3 separate regions of the Homo sapiens genome follow, and regions 2 and 3 are each linked to region 1. Evidence: promoter capture Hi-C in 16 types of primary human blood cells and fetal thymus (Javierre and others, 2016). All regions are on one chromosome and are shown on one strand. The core of a region is centred on a gene start or on the middle of the fragment in contact, and the rest is flanking DNA. Distances in the headings are between cores, read along the strand shown. Region 1 holds the start of SYNE3-AS1 (SYNE3 antisense RNA 1). Region 2 overlaps DICER1 (dicer 1, ribonuclease III). Region 3 overlaps DICER1 (dicer 1, ribonuclease III).

Evidence for each region. The method cuts DNA at HindIII sites, captures the fragments that hold promoters and counts their contacts. A CHiCAGO score of 5 or more calls a contact.
Region 2: a fragment that was not itself captured here is called in contact with the fragment with the promoter of SYNE3-AS1 in region 1 in 3 of 17 cell types (M0 macrophages, monocytes and total B cells); the score reaches 5.7 in M0 macrophages.
Region 3: a fragment that was not itself captured here is called in contact with the fragment with the promoter of SYNE3-AS1 in region 1 in 1 of 17 cell types (M0 macrophages); the score reaches 5.2 in M0 macrophages.

What each region holds. Positions count from the first base shown.
Region 1 is chr14:95,514,670-95,517,369 of GRCh38, reverse strand. It overlaps SYNE3-AS1 (SYNE3 antisense RNA 1), which reads right to left and starts at 1,250. Exons shown (of 2, transcript NR_188030.1): 1 at 1,150-1,250; 2 at 1-366. SYNE3 (spectrin repeat containing nuclear envelope family member 3) reads left to right here and starts at 720. Exons shown (of 18, transcript NM_152592.6): 1 at 720-774. RefSeq lists silencers at 465-1,274, 1,024-1,318. The HindIII fragment of the contact is 27,487 bases long and covers 1-2,700 here.
Region 2 is chr14:95,137,873-95,140,572 of GRCh38, reverse strand. All of the region lies in intron 1 of DICER1 (dicer 1, ribonuclease III), which reads left to right. It overlaps MIR3173 (microRNA 3173), which reads left to right and starts at 2,587; the gene lies at 2,587-2,654. The HindIII fragment of the contact is 3,001 bases long and covers 1-2,700 here.
Region 3 is chr14:95,121,261-95,123,960 of GRCh38, reverse strand. The region is part of intron 8 of DICER1 (dicer 1, ribonuclease III); the gene reads left to right. Among named protein-coding and RNA genes, the nearest start is that of MIR3173, 15 kb to the left of the region's middle. The HindIII fragment of the contact is 962 bases long and covers 954-1,915 here.

The DNA.
Region 1 (2,700 bases), core at 1-2,500:
AGTGGGAGGATGTTTCTGCTGGTGGGGAGGGAGAGGTGAGGCGCATTCTGAGGCCTTGGGTTTGTTGGGGGTTCACATTATGCCTGGGGATTCACATCCCTTGTGACTCCTGGACTGTGGGCCCGGACTGTGGGGGTGGGAGAGGACGGGCAGGGTGCCACTACCCCCCACCCCGCCCTTTCTCCCCGCGCGAGGCTGGCTGATGAGTGTCATTTTCTTCTTGGATTTCGCGCCTACGGGCGGTGTGCCCCTTCCAAGGCCCCCACCTCCGCTCTGTGAGGGCAAGATCTGCCGGTGTCCTAATCCCTTTTCCATGTCTGGGCGCACAGATCCAACTTTCCCGGAGAGGCAGCTCCGCGCCATCCCCTAGGATGAGAAGAGGGTGGGTGGCTGTGTGTGTGTCGGGGAGACAGACAGGGGCCAGGGCTCCGGGCTGCTTTCCAGGCAAGCGTGGACAGGACCCCCCCCTTAACCCCCGCCCCGGGTCCGCGACAGGGAGCGGTGAGGCTTTTCTTCGGCCCTGGTCCCCGGGGCCACGCAGGATGTCCGCCGGGCTGGGGTTGCGCACCCGGGGCCTCCGCTGAGCGCGTGCGGAGAGGGGCGCGGCCTCTCCCGCGGGGCCACCGGGCGGGTCCCGGCGGGGGCGGGGGTACTCGCGGTGTCCGGGCCCGCCCCAGCCCTGCCCCGCCCCGGAGCCGCCCGGGACGCAGGGAGGAGGGAAGGAGGCTCGGCCCCAGCTACCCGCGGCGCCGCGCTCCTCCACGCTCCGGGAGGGTAAGTGGCACGGGGCCGGGAGGCCAGGCCTGGGGCCGGGGGCCGGGGGCCGGGGGCCGGGCGGGTGGGGTCCTCAGCCCCTGGCCCAGCTCTGACACAGCCCCGGGAATCGGGGGCGCCGAAAGTCTGGGGGACCTGGGGAGGCGCGCCCGGCGCGGGGGCGGGGGCCCCGGCGTGACAGCTGCGGGCGGGCGGGTATTTTTAGTTTAAATCCAACCGTTCTGTGCTGGCTGCGAAATTCCCGAGCCTTTCCTTTCAACCCCGGGGAGCTTCGGCCGGCCCACAAGAAAAAGCCCTAAAGCCCCGGGCAGCGCGCCCCAGCGGGCCGGGTGCCTCCTCGGGGCTTCCCTCTGCCTCCCCTAGGGGCGGGCTGACCTGTCACCAAGGCTTGCGCGCGGCGGGGGCCCAATCCGCTCCTGGCGACCGCGAGCGCGCTCAGTAGTGCCTGGGAGAGCAGAGCAGGCGGCGAAGAGGGGAAGTCCAACCCCGAATGCTCAGTTTCGTTCAGACGCCTTTTGGCTATGCAAACTTGGCAAGCAGCTCAACCTCTCTGAGCCTCATTCCCACATTTCTAAAGGGGAGGGCAGTGAGGCCAGAGATGGCTTGCAGGGCCTGAGAGAGCCTCAGATGGATGTTGACTTCCCCTGGGGTCTTGGGATCTTGACCCCAAACAGCAGACCCATTGATGTGGCCCATTGGTCAACCCGGGAGCAGTGTCCTACACCGCCCAGCTGACCTCTGCTTCAAAACTGGAAGCCAGGGGCCTCCAGCCTGGGCGGGGTGATAATGAATATTTTCAGTTAACCACTTTGGCCCTGAAGCTCCAACCCTGGGCTTTCCTGGGACTCTCCCAGGTTCCTGGTCACCCCTTTCAACTCTGAAGGGTCACCCTTATCCCTGCACTGGGTGGGGGGGCTTTCTACAGCCAAGGGCTGCTAGTGGGATAGCTTGATGTGTCTTGGGGGCATGCCCCATCCCACATGAATGAGGGCATGAGGAGAATGGACCGTCCTCCCAGAAAGGAGAGCATGTCATAAAATCACTGCCATTCTGAGCTTGGCAGGACAGCGTCCTTCATCCACCAAGAGAAGCAGAAACAGGCCCAGAGAGGGGGAGTGATTTGCCCAGAGCCACACTGCCTGGCTCTCTTGAAGGGCCTGGGCTTGCCGCCTGCACTTCCAGGGCAGCCAACAGCCCATAGGAGTCAGGAGCTGGGAGGTGGGAGGGGCATATCAGTGCCAACGAGCTGTTTTGCTCAGTTTCCTGTCACTGTGCCCCAGCGGGATGCTCCAGCACATGTGGGTCTGCACATTCCTCAGGCCGGACGGTGCTCGGCAGGCTGACAGCCACAGCTGTGCCAAGCCTGCTGGCCCCAGGCGTTGTTTTCAACCAGAGAGGCCCCTCTGGGGGTGGCTGAGCGGGAAGTGGGCTGGGATGTCTTATTTCTGGAACTCGTGTCTTGCTGGGGGTCCTGAGAAGAAGGCCTGAGGATGTGTTGGTGGCACAGAGGGAAGTGGTGAGAATCCAGGCTCAGGTTTCTGCCTCCAGGTACAGTCTGGCACCTGGCTCCCTGCAGGTACACTTCAGAGTGAGTTGGAGTCCTTTCTGTCTGTCTCCATGGGAACAAGGCTCCTGCTCGGGTGCTTTGCATGCTCTCCAGCAGCCATGGACCTGGCCATGCCTGGGCAGCCCCTTTGCCTTGTGATGCAGCCTGGAGCGGGCTGCCGGGGGGCCCTGGCTTGGCGGCCCCGGGAGGCAAGACTGGGCAGGCCCAGCTCAACGTCAAAAGCACCCTGGAGCCTTTGGGAACCCACTGGGCAGCTAGGCTTCCCGCATTGTCCAGCTGTTAGGAATGGGGCAGTCAAGTTGGATTGCCTGAGTCCAGTCCTGCCTTAGCCCGTTCCTGGCTGTGTAGCCTTGGGAAAG
Region 2 (2,700 bases), core at 75-2,574, 380 kb after region 1:
TTAATGACTGGATATCTTCTGAGAAATGCATTGTTAGGCGATTTTGTCATTGTGTGAACATCATAGAGTGTACTTAATTAACATAAACCTACATGGTATAGCCTATTATACACCTAGGCTATATGGTATGACCTTTTGTTCCTAGGCTACTAACCTGTACACCATGTTACTATATTGAATACTGTAGGCCGTTGTGACACAGTGGTATTTGTATATCTAAATATACCTAAGCATAGAAAAGGTACAGTAAAAATACAGTATCATAATCTTACGAGACCATAGTCTTATACGGGGTCAGTCTCTAAAACATTGTTATTGGGTGCATGACTGTATTTCTAAGTGCATAATATGTGGAAACTATGAAACAACCTCACTAGTTTCATGAGGGTAAGTTGTTTGACCAGAAATTTAAAATCTATAGTTGAAAAACAGTCATGTGGAGTTATTTTGGCTCTGCAAAAGCAGTTAATGGTAGCCAGTTTATCTGTGAAACTAGAACCTTTACCTGCCAGCAGAGATTCAGATCTTTTCATTAAGGCCAAGTTTAAAAAATCTGTTTAAACATGCCAAGAAAGTAAAAATTGGCAAAATTATAGGTTTTCCTGTTTTTATATTACAGATTACCTGTTGGAATTTTAAGTCTTGGATTTGTTTTCCCTAAATAGAAAGTGCATTACTGGGGCCAGTTATTGTCCACTAAATGAATGAAAATTAATTTAAACATTGTAACCTTATGGAAAATATAATTGGAAGGGTTAAATTGTTGTTCTTTATGTCCTTGTACATCCTCTCTCCTGCACTCATCTCTCAGGGCTGGTAGGAGTGGGATAGATGTGTGTTTCCAAACCGAATAGAAATATATCTTGATCCATCCATGATTCTGTTCTGTATATTATTGTGTGGACATTCATGAGTCTCTAATTCAGTTTGTCAAATATTTACTTAAATGTATATACAGAACATTGTAGCAGGAAATTTAAGAGGTGCAAAGAATGAGACTCATGTCTTGTTCTTATGGAGCTGTGCTCCAGTAAAAGAATAACATGTATGTTGTGTATGTGTGTCTATGAATAGCTCTAAAAATCTGTGATAGAAATTATGAAAGGCAAATAGAAGCTGTTTGAGGTTTTAATGTCACTCAGGTGGACATTGTTTTCATTCTAACAACCTGCAGTTTTTGTTTACCATGTCCTGGATGTGGTTCTGTACAGTGGGTAATACAGGTAAGGGTAAGATATGCAGCTCCTATATCCAAGGAAATTCTAGTCTAATTGGTCATATTTTAGTGAGAACAGAGTTTTAAGAGAAATTTTCTAAATAAGAATTCATATAAAATTACAGAAGTACATTTTATGGATTAAGACTATACCCCAAGCCTCTGTAGTATAACTGCTAGGATCACTTGGATTGAGCACATAGGATTGAAATACAGGATTAAACACTTTCAGTTGGTCAGTCAGGGAGGATGCATAATATGCTATAGGCTTTCAGCCAACAGGGATTACTCTTCTGTTGTGGAAATTGCTGGTGAATGGTGATGAGGCAGCAATAGGATAGCATTCTTTTTTTTTTTTTTTTATTTTTTTATTTATTTTTATTTTTTTTATTATACTCTAAGTTTTAGGGTACATGTGCACATTGTGCAGGTTAGTTACATATGTATACATGTGCCATGCTGGTGCGCTGCACCCACTAATGTGTCATCTAGCATTAGGTATATCTCCCAATGCTATCCCTCCCCCCTCCCCCGACCCCACCACAGTCCCCAGAGTGTGATATTCCCCTTCCTGTGTCCATGTGATCTCATTGTTCAATTCCCACCTATGAGTGAGAATATGCGGTGTTTGGTTTTTTGTTCTTGCGATAGTTTACTGAGAAGCTGGGTGAATAATCTGAACGTAAGGTTACAGGTCGGCAGAAGTCAGGCAGTCATGAGTGGGGGCAGTACTTTTCAGAGTACATTTGGGACTAGATATCACAGAGTGTAGTGCTTTGCTTAATTTCCTTTTTAAATATCAACTTTTTAATGAATTCCATTCCAGTAGTTTGTATTATTTTCTTACACATGGTTTTTTGTGAGAGCTGATAGAAACCTTAATCTTTTCAGGTATTTTTGGTTAGAGATGTTATTTCTGTATTTCTTTATTGTTTGATATTTATTTTTACTATATAATGTATCTATTTTCTCTTTATTTAGAGCCTAAATGTTGATAAATGTAACCTTTCATTTCTCTGTTTTTTTTTTCCACTTTTTTTCTCAGATTGATTCTTAGAAACCAGCTACCTATCATTTTTTTCTAAACCCTGTGAAAGTTTTAGGGTGGGGTAGGGCATTTATGAGAAATGTTGTGTTTGCTAAGAAAAAAAAAAAATCTCTGTCCTTTGAAATGCCAGGAACAGAACCTGGACACTGAGTGAATTTGCAACTCCTCCTTTTCCAAGCTCTTTACCTGCTGGTTTGTAGGAATAGGATCCACATACTTGAGTGAGGTTGGTGTCTTGAGGTGAAACCGGGCCTGAGAAACATTGGAGGTCTAGGGCTTATTTTCCAGATAGAATTGAGTCTTTGTTGGTCTTGGGCCAGCTTCCCTGCCCTGCCTGTTTTCTCCTTTGTGATTTTATGAGAACAAAGGAGGAAATAGGCAGGCCAGGGAAACGATCTCTCTCCCTCTCTTGTGCCGAGGAAGAACTGTCCAGATT
Region 3 (2,700 bases), core at 185-2,684, 390 kb after region 1:
CTACCTAAAATGGAGGACAAGTATGGTTTTTAAAAAAATCAGTATACATTTAAGTAAAGCATTGTTTTATATTCAATTTTAGATTCAATTCAGATATTTATTAATCCTTAACTATGTGTTAGACATTGTGTTAAGCATTTCACACCAAGTGTTCCCCTCAGGTAGTCTTAGGAGAAATTTTATCTGGGTATTGTGACTAATTTTTTAATGTTGATTTTTTTCTCTTAAAAATATGGATTCAACTTTTCAAGGCTAGGTTGGGCATGATGGGTTGTGCCTGTAATTCCAGCACTTTGGGAGCCAGAGGCAGGTAGATTGTTTGAGTTCACAAGGGGCAACACAACGAAACCCTGTCTCTAGAAAAAATACAAAAATTAGCCGGTGGTGGTGTATGCCTGTAGTCCCAGCTACTTGGGAGGCTGTGGTGGGAAGATGAGTTGAGCCTGGGAGGCAGAGGTTGCAGTGAGCTGAGATGGCACCACTGCACTCCAGCCTGGGCAGTAGAGCCAGACTTTGTCTCCAAAAATAAAGTTTTCAAGGCCACAGTGCAAAAAGTTTAGAACAATTGAATTTATTTTGGGTTGGTTCATAGACTGCATATTAAAATTTTGTGAATCAGAAGAGAATAAGAATGTTGGGGAAAGTTCTAAGACTATTAGCAAAGGTGATATTGAATCCAAATTTTAGGCCGTGGATTCCTACTCTTTCTCCCTTCAATGAAAGATTTTTTTTCTAATTTAGAACCAGCCAGGGAGCTATACTTCAGATTTCTGTCAGATGGTCACTTAATGTATGGTCCTTTTGGTTTGTAGATAGATACTCTTATTTTTTTCTGCCAAAAAAGGTCCTTATTTTGTACTTAAATCAATTTACTTTTCTATGAGATCCATTAATTGGCCACAGTTGATCCCTAACTTTTCTGCAAGTAGTGATCTCTTAGGAAAAACTAAGCTTTGCTTCCTAAGGTAATTTGGGATTTTTTTTTTTCTTTTTCTTTCTTTGTGTGTGTGTGCGCGCGCGCGCGCGTACACGCACGCGCACACGCGCTTAACTGCTTCTGAATGTTTAGGGGTTTTAAAAACTTTTTTGAGTAACGAGAAATTGGACTCGAGGGTCATCATCTGGCAGTTTTTAGTCTGGTAATTTTCATAGTCATTGAGCCTGATCCTTCTGATGAATACAAAGGAAAATAACTTTAGGGACCAAATTACATTTAAATTAGAAGTTGAAGATTGGAAGGGGACCTCACTGACTATCTAATCCAACCCACTTATTTTTGTAAAAATGAGAAAGAGCCTCAGGAGAGAGAGTGATTTGCTGTAAGTTAAATTGCTAGTCAATGGCAGAGACAATTCTAGAATCCTAATATCCTGACTCCTAGTTTCCAGTTCTTTCTATCATAGTAATGCCCCTGGGCATCACAGAACACTAAAAACCAGTGCTTTACAGCAGGAAGATTGCCAGGAGACGGACCTGGGAGAGCGTGACTAAGGAGGGATTATTTCTTAGGGCAGGGAAAAAGCATTTTGGGAGTCAAAAAAGTTTAATGCTGGCGCAGTTGTAAGCCTAGTTATGGACATACTCCCCGTCTCCATTTAGGATTATATAAGGATTAAATAAATTTTCTGGGGCTTGGAGAGAAGAAATGGGGGTGTATTTTCCGCCTTCCTCCTGTTTTCTGCATGTATTTTTAGGTAAAGATGTGCCAGTTTTTATTGCAGGAATATTAGCCTGAAAAGGTTTATCCAGAATCAGTCGGTTACTTCCTATTGACTTTAAGGATCAGATGAATTGTGATCAACTTTCATAAAATGTGACTGGAATTTAGTGCTGTATGATGAATCAAGAGTGCTCTGAGGGTTGACTTTATGAGCAGCTAATTAAATATACAATAGAGGTCTTGTTCCAGTAAGCTTTTTAATAAGCTTAGAAAAACTTCCTGAAATTCAGATTCTTTCCTTCCATCAGTTTAATGGGAGGAAAAACCCTTCTATAGTGAATAGTTTCATGGGCATATAAGCTATTGTAATATACATGCAGTTTTCTACTCTCCTAATTAAAAAAAATAAATCACAGCCACTTCTATATGTAGTGTAGGTATGTGCACAGTCTTATGTTTATGGGTTTCTTTGTACCTTATATTTACATAGGGGTTTCTAAGTTATATATATTTAAGACATATTCACAACACTCCATAGGGGAGGAAAGTAGATGTTCTTTCCATATTACAGAGGAAGAAAACAAGCATCAGTGTGTGACCTTCCCCCAAATTACACACATATCAAGTGGCAGAAAATGGCTTCCAGTCTCAAGTCCAGTGTTCTTTTCACCGTGTAATATACTAGTATTGTGTGATACTGGCATTGGACAAACCTGGGTTCACATCCTGTCTCTACCCCTCCCCCTTTTTTTCCTAATAACTTTTTATTTTGGAATAATTTGAGATTTACAGAAAAGTTGGAAAAATGGTACGGAGTTCTCATATGCCCCTCACTTAGTTTCCCCCATTGATATTATCTCATGTCAGTGTTTGTCACAACTAAGAAAACTAACATTGGCCCATTACTATTAACTCCAGACTTTATTTGGATTTTGACAGCTTTTCTACTAATGTCCTCTTTTTCAAAAAATTTATTTTTATTTTTTTCTAACCACTAGACAGTAAGGGATAATGTCTTTAATCCAAGGTGTCATATCACA